5 separate regions of the Homo sapiens genome follow, and all the other regions are linked to region 4. The links are contacts of gene promoters, found by promoter capture Hi-C in blood cells and fetal thymus (Javierre and others, 2016). All regions are on one chromosome and are shown on one strand. Each heading gives the region's core, a stretch centred on a gene start or on the middle of the fragment in contact. The rest is flanking DNA. Distances are from core to core; before and after follow the strand shown.

Evidence for each region. Contacts are between HindIII fragments. The CHiCAGO score rates a contact against its expected background, and 5 or more counts as called.
Region 1: a fragment that was not itself captured here is called in contact with the fragment with the promoter of DNASE2B in region 4 in 1 of 17 cell types (neutrophils); the score reaches 5.0 in neutrophils.
Region 2: a fragment that was not itself captured here is called in contact with the fragment with the promoter of DNASE2B in region 4 in 2 of 17 cell types (M2 macrophages and M0 macrophages); the score reaches 5.2 in M2 macrophages.
Region 3: a contact is called between a fragment that was not itself captured here and the fragment with the promoter of DNASE2B in region 4, in 1 of 17 cell types (endothelial precursors). The highest score is 6.9, in endothelial precursors.
Region 5: a fragment that was not itself captured here is called in contact with the fragment with the promoter of DNASE2B in region 4 in 1 of 17 cell types (neutrophils); the score reaches 6.5 in neutrophils.

What each region holds. Positions count from the first base shown.
Region 1 is chr1:84,714,468-84,717,167 of GRCh38, reverse strand. No RefSeq gene overlaps it. Among named protein-coding and RNA genes, the nearest start is that of SSX2IP, 25 kb to the right of the region's middle. The HindIII fragment of the contact is 7,914 bases long and covers 1-2,700 here.
Region 2 is chr1:84,694,578-84,697,277 of GRCh38, reverse strand. No RefSeq gene overlaps it. Among named protein-coding and RNA genes, the nearest start is that of SSX2IP, 5.5 kb to the right of the region's middle. The HindIII fragment of the contact is 5,437 bases long and covers 1-2,700 here.
Region 3 is chr1:84,123,617-84,126,316 of GRCh38, reverse strand. It overlaps a transcript of PRKACB not described here. Among named protein-coding and RNA genes, the nearest start is that of PRKACB, 19 kb to the left of the region's middle. The HindIII fragment of the contact is 2,181 bases long and covers 249-2,429 here.
Region 4 is chr1:84,397,205-84,399,904 of GRCh38, reverse strand. It overlaps DNASE2B (deoxyribonuclease 2 beta), which reads right to left and starts at 1,421. Exons shown (of 6, transcript NM_021233.3): 1 at 1,216-1,421. The coding sequence starts at 1,340. The HindIII fragment of the contact is 1,924 bases long and covers 634-2,557 here.
Region 5 is chr1:84,655,681-84,658,380 of GRCh38, reverse strand. It overlaps SSX2IP (SSX family member 2 interacting protein), which reads left to right. Exons shown (of 14, transcript NM_001166293.2): 9 at 1-63; 10 at 1,897-2,033; 11 at 2,376-2,549. Among named protein-coding and RNA genes, the nearest start is that of LINC01555, 22 kb to the right of the region's middle. The HindIII fragment of the contact is 2,465 bases long and covers 53-2,517 here.

The sequences.
Region 1 (2,700 bases), core at 25-2,524, 320 kb before region 4:
TCTCCTGCCTCAGCCTCCTGAGTAGCTGGGACTACAGGCACCCGCCACCAAGTCTGGCGAATTTTTTGTATTTTTTAGTAGAGACGGGGTTTCACCGTGTTAGCCAAGATGGTCTTGATCTCCTGACATCGTGATCTGCCCACCTCGGCCTCCCAAAGTGCTGGGATTACAGGTGTGAGCTACCGCACCTGACCATCTTTTGCCCATTTTTTTATTGGTCTATTTGTTTTTTTGCTATTGAGTTGTATACATTCCTTATGTTTTCAATATTTACCACTTGTCAGATATAGAGTTTACAAATATTTTATCCCATTCTGTAGGTTGCTTTTTCATTTTGTTTATTGTTTCTTTTGCTGTGCAGAAGTTTTTAGTTTGATGTAGTTACCCTTGCTTATTTCTGTTTTTATTGCCTGTACTTTTGGTATCATATCCAAAAAATCATTGCTCAGACTAATATCAAGTAGTTTTTCCCTATGTCTTTTTTTTCTAGGAGTTTTATAGTTTCAGGCCTTACATTTCTAAATCTTTAATCCATTTTGAGTTGTCTCATGGATTTTTTAACACTTATTTTTTCAAGTCAAGATCCAGACTTGGTCCACATATTGCATTTGATTGATATGTCTCTTGTGTCTCTTTTATTCTATAGGTTTCCTTTCCTCTTTTAATTTTTTTCTTGCATTTTATTTATTGAAAAATCTAGGTCATCTGTCCTGCAAAATTTTCTACATTCTGGGTTTTGTTGATCTTCATATATCATTTAGCATCCTCCCCTGGCCACTGTTGATTCCTGTAGTTACTGCTAATCTTTAGTCTCATTTTTTTTTTTTGTCTGTTTTCTTCATCCTTTCGGCTGTACATATGCCTGCAATATAATGGAGCCCTGCCTAAAATCAAGACCAGTTGTATAACACAGGTTTGGTGGTAGGAGGAAGTCTGTTTTATTTTTAATGATTCTAGAGCTTTCACCTATGAAATCTAAATCTCACAGTTTCTGTTGAACAAGCATTCTCCCTTTCCATCCCACACTGTAGTCTAACCAGACATTTATTCCCAGGGACTCACCACTTGTCTCAAAAACCTTTATTTAAACAAAGATAAACATTAGCATACATAAAGCATTTATCTGTCTTGACTTTTGTGTCCTACCCCTGTGTTTCTAATTTCTTTTTGTTTACCAGACAATGCCTGGTGCCCTGGGATCCACGATATGCTGATCCCTTCTTCATTCACTGTGGGATTGAGGTCATCCCTCAGGGAATAGACTTTCATCTGATTAGATGTACTGAATGGCTGACTTAGCTCCATTCAGGCCTCCATAGAGAAGACAGACAAGTGGGCCCTCCCCTGGGAGAAACAAGGTGGGCCTAATGCTAGACAGCATTTGATATACTCACAGCTGTGAACTCTTGAAAACAAACAGGTGGAGGAGGGGGAGTGCCATGTTGTATTCAGAGCAGGTAGTTGCGGTTTACTAATCAGATCAGCCATCCACAAGCTGGCAGCACTGTAGCTCATGTGTGTGAACAGTGAAAGGCAATATTACTATTTTAGCTTTGGCCTTTTGGGTGACAGCAGCACTGGCTTATATCCATTTATTTCGCCTGAAAACTCTGTCATCTCTAATGCTCTCTAAGACCTCTCCAAACTCTATTGTGTAAGACATAGATATGCTAGTTAGCTAAATACATCCTTAAACTGACTTTGCTATAAATAATTCCCAGTTGCATATAGCTTCAAATCTATTCTATCTTTTTGAAGAGTACAGTTATTTTTATTGCCTCTGAGTTCCATTATAATAAATGAATTTGCAAGCAAAAAAAAAAAAACTTGGAGAAATGAAAACCCAGAACCATATTACTGGAGAAAGCATATTTTGCATTTGGATGTCAACTTTTGAAGGGAAATAATGATGTACTCAGAAGCAGAAACTGGTGAACATAGCTGGAACCATTATCTAGACAGGAGCATCAGAAGGCTGTCACTCAGGAAAAAATCCTGTGAAAAGAGGAGATTTGCTACCCAACTGAAAAAAGAAGCATGTCCCCATGCCTTTAAAGGTTTGAGGGAATGGAAAGTAGGCTACTGGGAGGAGAGGCATAATAATAATTAACTTCATAGCCTTGGCAGTTTACAAAATGCTCTATTTTATATTTTCTCATTTTAACTTCATGACAACCTGGGGAGTGTGCTGTCGTGCCCATTTTTAAGAGAAATTAATGAGGTAAAGGGCGATTAAATGACTTGCTCCAAATCACATATCCAATAAGTAATAGGATTTAAAACTAGGTCTTTGGGTGCCATCTGTACATCCCTTCCTACCACAAGTCTTTTGCGTAATGGCTACATGGTATCAGCCTCCCTGAGTCCCTTCCCGCTGAGCTCTGAATTTCCTTTCCTGGTTACTGTAAGGACAGAAAGTGGCCCTTTCTCCTTACTCGTCTGTGATGCTCTGTTTGATCGCTGTCTGCTAACTACGAGGTATCCTTAGGCAAGTTGCTTTTCCTCTCTGGGTTTCATTTTCTTAATTCTGAAGATTTCTTCTACTTCTTAAATGCTCAAATTCTTTATTAGAACTTAACTTTTAAAGCATAATAAAAATAATAGCTACATTTCTTAAGGACTATTTGGAATTAAGTACTACACTGAATCTTTTACATGGATTGTTGCTAACTCAATACTGCCCTGCAATATTAACTTTAT
Region 2 (2,700 bases), core at 58-2,557, 300 kb before region 4:
TGAATCTTTATGGGAAGAGCCTTCTAGGCAGACTGAATGGCAAGTACAAAGAGCCAAGGGAACTGAAAAGGCTGCCTCTATGGTTGGCACTTTGTGGCCAAAGTGCGAGTTCTGAAAGGAGGATGGGGAACAGGGGCCAGATCATGCCAGGGAGGGCTAGGTGGGAAGTTACTAAATACAATGAGAGGCCATTGAAGGTTCTTAAATAGGGAAGGGGAATCAGAATTTGATTTTCACTTTTGAAAGATGCCTCTAATGTAATGGGGGCAAAAATGAAAGTCTTCAGACAGGTTGGAAGAAATTCATTCACACATACACACAGACATATAGAAATAAATATTTCTATTTTAAAAACAAAAATGGTAACATATAGTACTTATTCTGCAACTAGTTATTGGTGTACATTTTTAGAACTCCTCTTTGAAATTATGCTCAGAGTTGGTTTACTGCCTCCTAGAAAAATCAAACACATTATGTTTTTTTACCTTTCCTTACCCACTCAAATGCAGTAACTTAGCAGGAAAACAGGTTTGGGATTTTAACATTTTGCTCCAGAATGTGTTCATCAGATTTGGCTCTTGCATGACTTTTGGATTGTCCCAGAAATCAGATTTATTTTTTAAAAATAATTATTTTCTTTCTTTTTTTTTTAACCTTGCAACTCCAGCTCAAAGGAAAGCATTATTTTCAACAAATTCAGTAAATAATGATGTGATACCTTTTGAATATGTATACATGGGAATATGTATACAGCCTAATAAAGTGCTTACTTTGAAATGAAAAACATTTATTTGAATTTATAAATTTAGTCACCAAATAATTATTGAGTACCAACCACAAAGCATCAGGCACTGTTTCAGGCACTGGGGATACATTAATGAACCAAGTAGAGGAAATTTATTTTCCTGCTGAGTTTATATTCTAGTGGAGGGAGACAGACCAAATGAACAATCAAAATAAGTAAAGGATCTATCATGGTTTAAGATTGTATAGGAGCAAAGTACGAGAAATTTGGAAAGCTGGAAGGGAGTTCCGATTTTAAACAATGTTGTCAGGTTGGCCCTTACCAAGATGGTGACATTTGAGCAGACTCTAAAGGGAGGACGTAAGTAACAAAGATGCTAAGGGGATGAACATTCAAACAGAGGTCCTGAAGCAGGAATGTGCTTGGCAAAGTTGAGGAACAGTGAGGTGGCTAGTGGTTGGTTGAGTGCTTAGTTGAATGGTTGACAGATTGTAGGACATGGAGTCAGAGAGGTAAGGTGGTGAAGGTGAGGTTGTAAGAGCCTTGCAGCCATGGTTAGCACTTTAGCTTTAACATTGAGTTAGGGGAGCCAAAGAAGAGAAGTGACAGGATCTCACATTTTAGGGGAATTACTCTGCCTACTGTGATATAAATAGACTACAGAGGAGCAAGGGTGGAAGTTTTGATAAGTTTTGGAAAACAACAACAGCAGCATTTCATAGTCACATCCCTTTAATTTTGCTAAAAAAAAGTGGAAAGCAAACTAAGCATTTTTAAAATAAAATTTTCATATCTTATCTTTCCTTTCTGATATAGTTCAGATATGTGTCCCTGCCCAAATATTGTGTTGAATTGTAATTCCCAGTATTGGAGGTGGGGCCTGGTGGGAGGTGATTGGATCATGGGGGTGGTTTCTCATGAATGGTTTAATATCATCCCCTTGGGGCTGTCCTCCATGAGAATAGTGACTCCTCATGAGATCTGGCTGCTTAAAAGTGTGTGGCACCTCGCTATCTTTCTTTCTTGCTTCTATTTTCGCCGTATGAGGTGCCTGCTCCCACTTCACCTACTGCCATGACTGGAGATTTCTGAGGCCTCCCTAGAAGCAGATGCCAGTGTCATGCTTCCTGCACAGCCTGCAGAACCGGGAGTCAATTCAACCGCTTTTCTTCATAAACTACCCAGTCTTTACAGCAATGCAAGAATGGCCTAATACACTTACCATAGTAAAGTTCTATCAAGCCCAATTTCTTTTAGCCCTGGGCTAAAAATGTTCTTAGGCTTAAGCCTACAATGGCTTAAGCAATAGGCCATTTACTGTCTCACATGATATGCAGTGTAGAGATATACAGAGCCAAGGTAGGCTAATGTAGCCACTCAGTAACATCTGGGCTTGGGGTTGCCTTTTCTGTACAGGCACACCTTAGAGGTAGTGCAGGTTCGGTTCCAGACCACAGCAATGAAGCAAATATCACAATAAAGGATGTCACATAGTATTTTGGCTTCCCGGTCCATATAAAAGTTATTTTATACTATACTATTGTCTATTAGTATGCAATAGCATTATGTCTTTAAAAACAAGGTACATATTTTAATTGAAAAATACTTCATTGCTAAAAAATGCTAACAATCTAAAAAAATCTTGAAGCCTTCAGCAAGTTATAATCTTTTTGCTAGTGGAGGGTCTTGCCTTGATGTTGATGGCTGCTGACTGATCAGGATGGTAGCTGCGGAGGGTTGGGGTGGCTGTGGCAACTTCTTAAAATAATGCAATGAAGTTTGCCACATCGAGTGACTCTTCCTTTCACAAAATATTTTTGTATCATGCAACGTTGTCTGACAGCATTTTACCCACAGTAGAGCTTCTTTCAAAATTGGAGTTAATCTTCTGAAACCCTGCTGCTTATCAGTTTAAGTTTATGGAATATTCTAAATCCTTTGTTGTCATTTGAACA
Region 3 (2,700 bases), core at 90-2,589, 270 kb after region 4:
CAGTAAAATCCTCCACATTCACCACCCTTCAATTCATTCATATGACCTTATTCTTCCTGGATGCCAGACAAGTACTCGGGTACCAAGAGGGCGGGTGCAAAAGGCTGTCACCCTGACCCTCCACTGATCTGTTAAACACTTAAGTTGTCTGTGGATGGCAAAGCTAAATGAGCACACTGTAACACATGCCCTCTAGGACTCCGGAGGTCACAGGTTCCCCTCCCCTCCCCCCCACCCCCCAGGAAGCTTCCACTGGACTGCACAGGATTCTACTCCTGCGGATGCCCAGAAGCACTTGTCCCAGTCCCTGTACCCACTCACCTGCATGCTCCCCGTCCCGTGAGGGGATGAGAGCTGCGAGCTGAGTAAACAAGTCAATCCCTTTGTGAGTCCCGCGAAGGGGTCAAGGGAACTATCCCATTTCTGAAGGAAGGGGCTGGAGGGGTGTTGTAATAAAAAATTCTATTGGACATATTAAATTTGAGATGCTTACTAGACATACAAATGGAGATTTCAAAAAGATAGCTGAATATGAGTCTGAAACACATCACTGCCTTCTAAATTTTATTTTAATCATATGCATATCTGTTAACAACTAGTTTATACTTCTGGTTGTATTAGGGAAGAAAGATGGTTTAAATTTTCTTTAACTATTAAGTAGATCCTCCTCTTAATTGTGACTGAGTCTTGAAATGCATACCAAAGGTCGTAGGCTCTCTGTACTTCCTCTTCTTTCTAAACTCCCGATGGATTTCTGATAAGCAGAATGCTCCCCCTATTAATTCCATCTACTGCCTGGAAACTGTGGATATGTTTCAATATATGCCTAACTGGACTCTGCGGATGTAATTAAGGCTACTAATTAGTGACTAAATAGATTCCTCTGGATTACTTAGGTGGGCCCGATCTAAAAAAATTTGCTCTTGAAAGCAGAGAACCTTGTCCAGCTAGGAGCAGAAGAGAGCCATGGCAACATGTCATGAAATTTCACGTGTGAGAATGATCAGCACACCATTACTGGCTCTGAGATATTACAGCCTATGTAGAAGCACCAGAGAGAGGGCTCTAAGAGCTAAGGGAGCCCCCTAGATGACAGTCAACCAAGAAACAGAGACCCTAGTCCTATAACCATAAGGTACTGGATTCTGCCAGAAGTATGGATCAGCTTGGAAGTAAATTCTTCCCCAGAAACTCCAGATAAGAGCCTGCCAGAATTCTGACCTACAGAACAGTGAGATAATAAATGGGTGTTATTTTAAGCCACTATTTAAGCCACTATTTAGTTATAGCAATAATAGAAAATTAACACAAGACTTAAATGTAATAAGGTGATGGGGATGAGGAAAGTGGGATTCTATTTCCAGAGTACTAAAATGTATGAAATATGGACATGTGAAACTCCTAGTCATGGTTGATGTGGGCACTGTCTCCCTTTAACACTTAGAGCCCTTCGTGTTGATGAGAAAATTTCATTGATCTACTAACGCCCTAGCCAAGACTATAGCCAGGTAGTCCCATAACTAAATCTCCAGATGGGCTTTCTAAATACCTGAAATGTGAAGATGAAACTTCTTCCCTCAACCACCACTACCACCACAGAAATGGTGCAGGGCATGGGATAGTCACTCCTTTCACTCACATGAGAACCCTCAAGAGCACTGATAGGGCAAACTGCGAACCTCAGGCATTTGACTGCTAGTGTAGTTGCCTGACTCCACAGCATAAAGAGGTGAAGGTAGGGGGCTATAGGCTCAGACAGCAACATTACAAATGTCCAGTTTTAAAAAACACATATTTCCCCTTCACCCATAATTACTACGATAGAAACCCAATTTTCACCATTCAGATAATAACCTGAAAACCTCACTCTTCAGATAATGTGTGTAAAAGCATTCTGGATATGAAAGGCTGTAAAGTTATACTAATACAAAATGTAAGAAACTTCAGGTAAACCAGTAGTCAAAAATCATGCATAGAAGTTCCATTTATGTAAGACGACTTTCTCCTAGCTAATTCCTACTTGTTAATCAAAGTGTAGTTCAATGTTATTTCTTCTCTTCTAGTTCCTAAAATATATTAACACCCACGTTACTGTACTGACCACATTGTAGTAATTGCATGTTTATACTTCTTTTTGTGAGTTTCTCATATCATTTCTTACCAGAATCTAACACACTGATGATCACACAGTATACACTCAATAAATGTTTTTAAATTGATTAATTTCTTCAAGATACCATAGCTTTTTTATGAGATAGCTTTAGGTATCTAAAAGATGAGTCACAGACAGAAATAAAGGCCCTTTATTAGGCCCCAATATATCACATATATTTCTACACTACTTTAGGGAGCTATGCATTTCCAGTCTTCAATTTCTCTCTTTTAATTTAATATTATTGAGTGTAAAAATGTTAAGAAAATACAAAGCTTACTGCCTAGAATATTTTGGAATCCATTTATATTAGACTATGTAACATATTCTAAATGTTGTAAGATTGACTATAACAATGCTAACTTATTATATGTCAGATATCATTCTAAGTGTTTCACATGAAGTAAATAAAGCATTTATTCCTCACAACAATCTACCTTTATATTGGATATTATTATCCCATTTTCCAGAGTGACAAAGAGGTTAAGTGTGCTGCAAAAGGTCACAAATTGCAACATTTTATAGCGTTCTACTTTATTTTCTCTATC
Region 4 (2,700 bases), core at 172-2,671:
CATCCATCCAGCCCTCATAGTACTGCCAATGGGTTTCCTAAAGTGCAAATCTGACCATTCACACCCCTGCGTGAAGTCCTCCAATAGCTCCCTTTCAATGTCAAGTTCAAACCTTGTAGCTCAGCACACAGACCCCTTGGCTGTCCCCACCTCTCTAACCTCACCTCCGGTCATCTTCCTGTATTCTCCTGAAGTTCCAGCAATACCAAACTACTTTGCAACTCCCAAATTTCCATGTTGCTTCTTGCCTCTCTACCTCCTCATTGCTCCTTCATTGGCCTGAGATGCTCTTGCACATCCCTTCTTTTTCCAGCTACTTCTTAATTGTTCTTAAAACTTAGCTCAAAAATTACATCCTTAGAGAAGTTTTCTGGGCTCTCTGTTCCCCAGTGTTCCACCTATGCCCTTACCACATAACTGTGAGGTCCTTGAGGGTAGGAACCATGTTTCGTTCATATTTATATTTTCAAAACTCCACACAGACCTCTGTTGAGCTCAGTAACTGAGGAAAGACTGACTACTGCCTTGAGTATATCTGTGTTCTGTAGCCTGAAGTTTACACAAAAAGCTTGACACCAACCATTATGGCAAACCTAAATATCCCAATTAAAGGGTGAAAAAGTAGTTAAAGCTTTAGGAGAACCCATGACTATAATGCAACACAGCATTTAATGTCTTTGACACTGTACAACAGGCCAGTGGCCTACGTACCAATCATGGCAACAGCTGCCTCTGCTTCCAAACAAACCGATGTTAGGCAAACAGTGCTGTGTGTGACCAGGTCCCCCTTCTCTTTCTCATAAGGAGCAGCACATGCTCCATTTTCAGAAAAAAATAATCTGCCTTCTTTACTCTGTCAGTCTTTCAAAGGATGTTGGAAGTGTTCTGTTAGGAAAAGCCATGATGTAATTAAAAGAAATTGCCAGCTCACAGAAGCTGTCAGCTCAATCCCACTTCTGTGGCTACCAGCCTTGCCCCGCTGAGAACAGTGAATCAGGCCCAAGAGGGGCTGCTCAGCTCTTTTTCAGGGGGAAACTCCGTCACTCAGAAGCCTACCCCTGCCTGGGAGTTTGGCCGATTTGCACACTTTAACTTCCTTTATTTGTAAAGGGAGGAAAGAGAATGGACATTCCCCTTAGGAACTTCGCAGTGAGCCAGGCCAACTCTGTACCGAGGCTGTTTGCATGCAGCAGTCCTTCCATTTCATTTACCTACCAGTCCACAGCTTTCCCTTCTTCATTTCTGCATGAAATTGTTGCTGCCCCCAGCACCCCAAAGAGGCCAAGGAAGAGCAAAGCAAAGGATGTTCTTAGCAGTCTTGCCATCATTTTCTGTTTCATTTATTTCATGCCACAGCAGGACACTTTCCCCATAGATTGTGGAGTCTGAGTTTCAAGGCGCTCTCAGGCTGTGCTGGCTCTGACGTTTGATTTGATTTACCTGTGCTGTTCGCTGTTCGGGGCATTTTCAGAGTGGGATGGATCCCATGTAATTGTGCGATTCTGTCACAACATGCCAGCGTGACTCTGGATGCCTTTGTGCTGAATTGTTGACTGGTTTGCAAAGTCATCAAAAAGTTCTGCAGAAAAATAGGGAAAGATAGTTCACTCTTTGGAGTGAACATTGTTGTATGAAATTCATTGGGCAGGGGGACTTCATTTTAATAAGTAGATGTTAAATATATTTCATGTCTTCTCCTGTTTGACTCAATGAATGAGAGCAAATGCAGGTGGTTCGTACATTAAACAGAAATGATAAAACCTTATGTCTTAGTAATAATTAGGATCTGTCACTTAATAATCTCTGTCTTAAGGAACCAGTTGCTAAGGGATACTTCAAAGGGTTGCTTCAAAGTAACAGTAAATTTAACTGTATTTTACCAAAGATGTTTACATATTCTCTCCATCTTCCTGGTTTTAGCCACTCAATGTGGTGCTTCAGGCTGCTATGCAATAGGTAAACATATTGATCACCCACTCTTCAGGTTAATAAAAAATGTTACAAACATCTATTTTGCCCAAACTATGCTTTCTCATTCTCGAAGCTGAATCTGAAGTAGAAAACCAAAATAAAATGGCCCACTACCATAACAACTATAAAAAGGTGAGACCAATTTCTTTGTGAATCAGGGAAGGAGTAGATAGACATATGAAAATAATTTCTTTAATGCATACTTTTGCATCAATTATTAAAGCTGCCATCATAATAAATAGCAGTTTACATCATGCCTGGAAATAATGCTGCCCCTAATCTGTCTCTCTGATAATCACAATGATAACTATAATAGTTCCAGATCAGAGGATCCAGACCAAACTGAACCCTTGTAAATCAGATTACCTCTGTGGTTGCACTAGAACTGTTCACAATTCTCAGGATTCATAGAAAAGGGGAAGGCTTGTGTCTCTATCCTAAGACAGAGTTTTGGGAGGAGGACTCTGTACCACCTGCCCAATTACCTGTGGTGCCTGCAAAAAAGGCAGAATTCTAGGACTTATTCCAAACCTGCTACATCAGAATTCTTCCAGTTGGGCTCAAGAATCTATATTTTTAATAAGCTTATTGGTGATGCTGGTGTACCCTAAAGTTTGAAACTCACTGCCCTGAGGCCAAGACTATGCTGTATTTGGTAGATTCACAGCTTTCTGCAGGTTAAATGAAGAAATATTTTTCTTACCCATTCCTCCATTGGTATTATTATTA
Region 5 (2,700 bases), core at 36-2,535, 260 kb before region 4:
CAAACAGCATCAGAAAACAGTGGAGAATTTTGAAAAGTCATGTAGAAAAGCTTGATAACCAAGGTAACCACTGCTTCTATGCATGTAAAGTGAGTTGTGACATTTGGTAAGGTGTTGATTTTTAGTCACTTAGAAAGCCGCATTATAGGCTCAGAGCTAAAGTACTATACTTCAGTTTGGTGGTTTGAAAGCAAGATTTTGCATACATTTATTTTTTCATTTTATTTTATTTTATTTTACTTTTTGAGACAGAACCTTGCTCGGTCACCCAGGCTAGAGTGTAGTGGTGCCATCTCGGCTCACTGTAACCTCCGCCTCCCAGGTTCAAGTTATTTCTCCTGCCTCAGCCTGCTGAGCAGCTAGGACTATAGGCGCACATCATAGCCAGCTAATTTTTTGGTGTGTTTTTAGTAGAGATGGGGTTTTGCTGTGTTGGCCAGGCTTATCTTGAACTCCTGGCCTCAAGTGATTCACCTGCCTTGGCCTCCCCAGAGTGTCTGGATTACACGTGTGAGCCACTGTGCACAGCCGACATTTTACATACATTTAGATGTGAGGTTTGAACCTCACTGAGAAAAATACACTTTGGTCTCAGAGTGAATGTTTGAAAAGAGGACATCATGGATCCATCTGCTCTGGATGCAGTATACAATCAAATAAAGATAACTGAGTTGGGATAAAAGACTACACATTGGGTGTAGTGTACACTGCTTGGGTGATGGGTGCACCAAAATCTCAGAAATCACCACTAAAGATCTTATTCATGTAACCAAACACCACCTGTTCCCCCCCAAAAAGAGAAAACTGAGTCTCTTTTACTGACTCTCAAAAATCAAGAAATATTTATCGTAGTATAGATAGGAACATTTTGCTTATTTCTAGATGCTTGCAGATTACTATGTTCCTAGTAATTCACTTAAAATTATTTTTAAAATAATAGATGTTTAATGCAAAATATTAATTTGGAAGTATATAAAGTAGAATATCCTGGTCTCTATTCCATACATATAACACTTAACAGTTTGGTGCATATTTTTCTATACTTTCCTCTATGGATTTGAAAGATACTTACTTTTTTTTAAATTTTAAAAATTGAATATTACCTATATTTTTCTTTAGTGTGCTTTTTTCACTTAACTATTATCCTTATACATAGCTCTACATTGATGAATATATTCTTAATATTTTCTGCTTGGTAAAGTTTGAATGCTTTTAAACTAGGAAAATGAAGATTTCTGCTCAGTAAATGAAGCCTATTTAAAGAAAAATTTAAATTGTCAAAATATGAACTCAGTGCCATTGTGTTAAGTATTAGTAAAGAGCAATCAGCAAAATTATTATTACAGCACCAAAATGAATCTACATGAGATTTTGTTCATTTGAGTCAATGCTGTTTATTATCAAATAGCAAGTATGTTTGGACTTCGTATTTGTTGAATTTAATATTTGAGAGCAAGATTTGTGACACTTCATTGATCTTTGAAGCAGTGTCAACAAAAACATGATTTTATTTTTCTCTTCTCTGAATATGGCCATTTTGTCTGTTTTTAATTAGGACATAATCATGAATAAATATGGATTACAAATTGTTGGCAATAGAGCTCTGTTTGTAAGCATATCATTTAGTCTTAAAATTGCACAAATGTGTAATTGTCGTCATGAACTCCTGTAGTTGCTTTGCTTAAACATTTTTTATAATGTTAAAATAATATAAATTTAATTTTGTTATAGCTTATGAAATTTTAAAAAGTCAAAGGACGTAACTACTTTTTAGAAAACCTATAAAATTCTAGAAAGATAAAAGTTCTGAGAGCCCTTGTTTTAAAGATATGTGCAAAACACTGTAAACTAAGTGGTGGCTATAAGACCTATGTCAACTTACTGATTTTGTCTTAGTTTCAAAGGTACACCTGGAAGGTTTTAATGATGAAGATGTAATCTCACGACAAGACCATGAACAAGAAACTGAAAAACTCGAGTTAGAAATTCAGCAGTGTAAAGAAATGATTAAAACTCAGCAACAGCTTTTACAGGTGAATATGAATTACCTTTTAAAGCTGTTCTCCATGAAAAGCCAGAATTGTGCTGAACCTTACCAGATTTGTATTCCTTTATTTCATAAGGCCCTGGTATTTGACAGATTTCTAGTCTGTGTTCCCTGCTAACAGATACATTGTGTACCACTCCTTAAATAGTCCATACTTTGCTAGTTGGGGTAGTAGGTTTCGGGAAATGAGAATTCTCATTTGACTTTTTGATTCTTAATAATTTCTATTCCTGCCCTGAAGTTTGACTGGCCTTCCCTTGCTTTCATTTCAACTCGTTGGAGTGTCGCAAGGTCCCTCAGGAACTTACTATGTTTTAAATTTTAATAGCAGCAGCTCGCTACTGCATATGATGATGATACCACTTCACTATTACGAGACTGTTATTTGTTGGAAGAAAAGGAACGTCTCAAAGAAGAATGGTCCCTTTTTAAAGAGCAGAAAAAGAATTTTGAGAGGGAGAGACGAAGCTTTACAGAAGCCGCTATTCGCCTGGGATTGGAGGTATTTTAAACAATTGTAGTGCTTTTGAAAATACTGGGGGTGGGTGGGCCTCAGTAGAATGCTTCTAAGGTCTCCTTTTTTTCTTGCTATTTACTTATTTTCTAAAATATTTACTGGTGATCTCACAAATAATTTGAAATGAGAGGGAGGC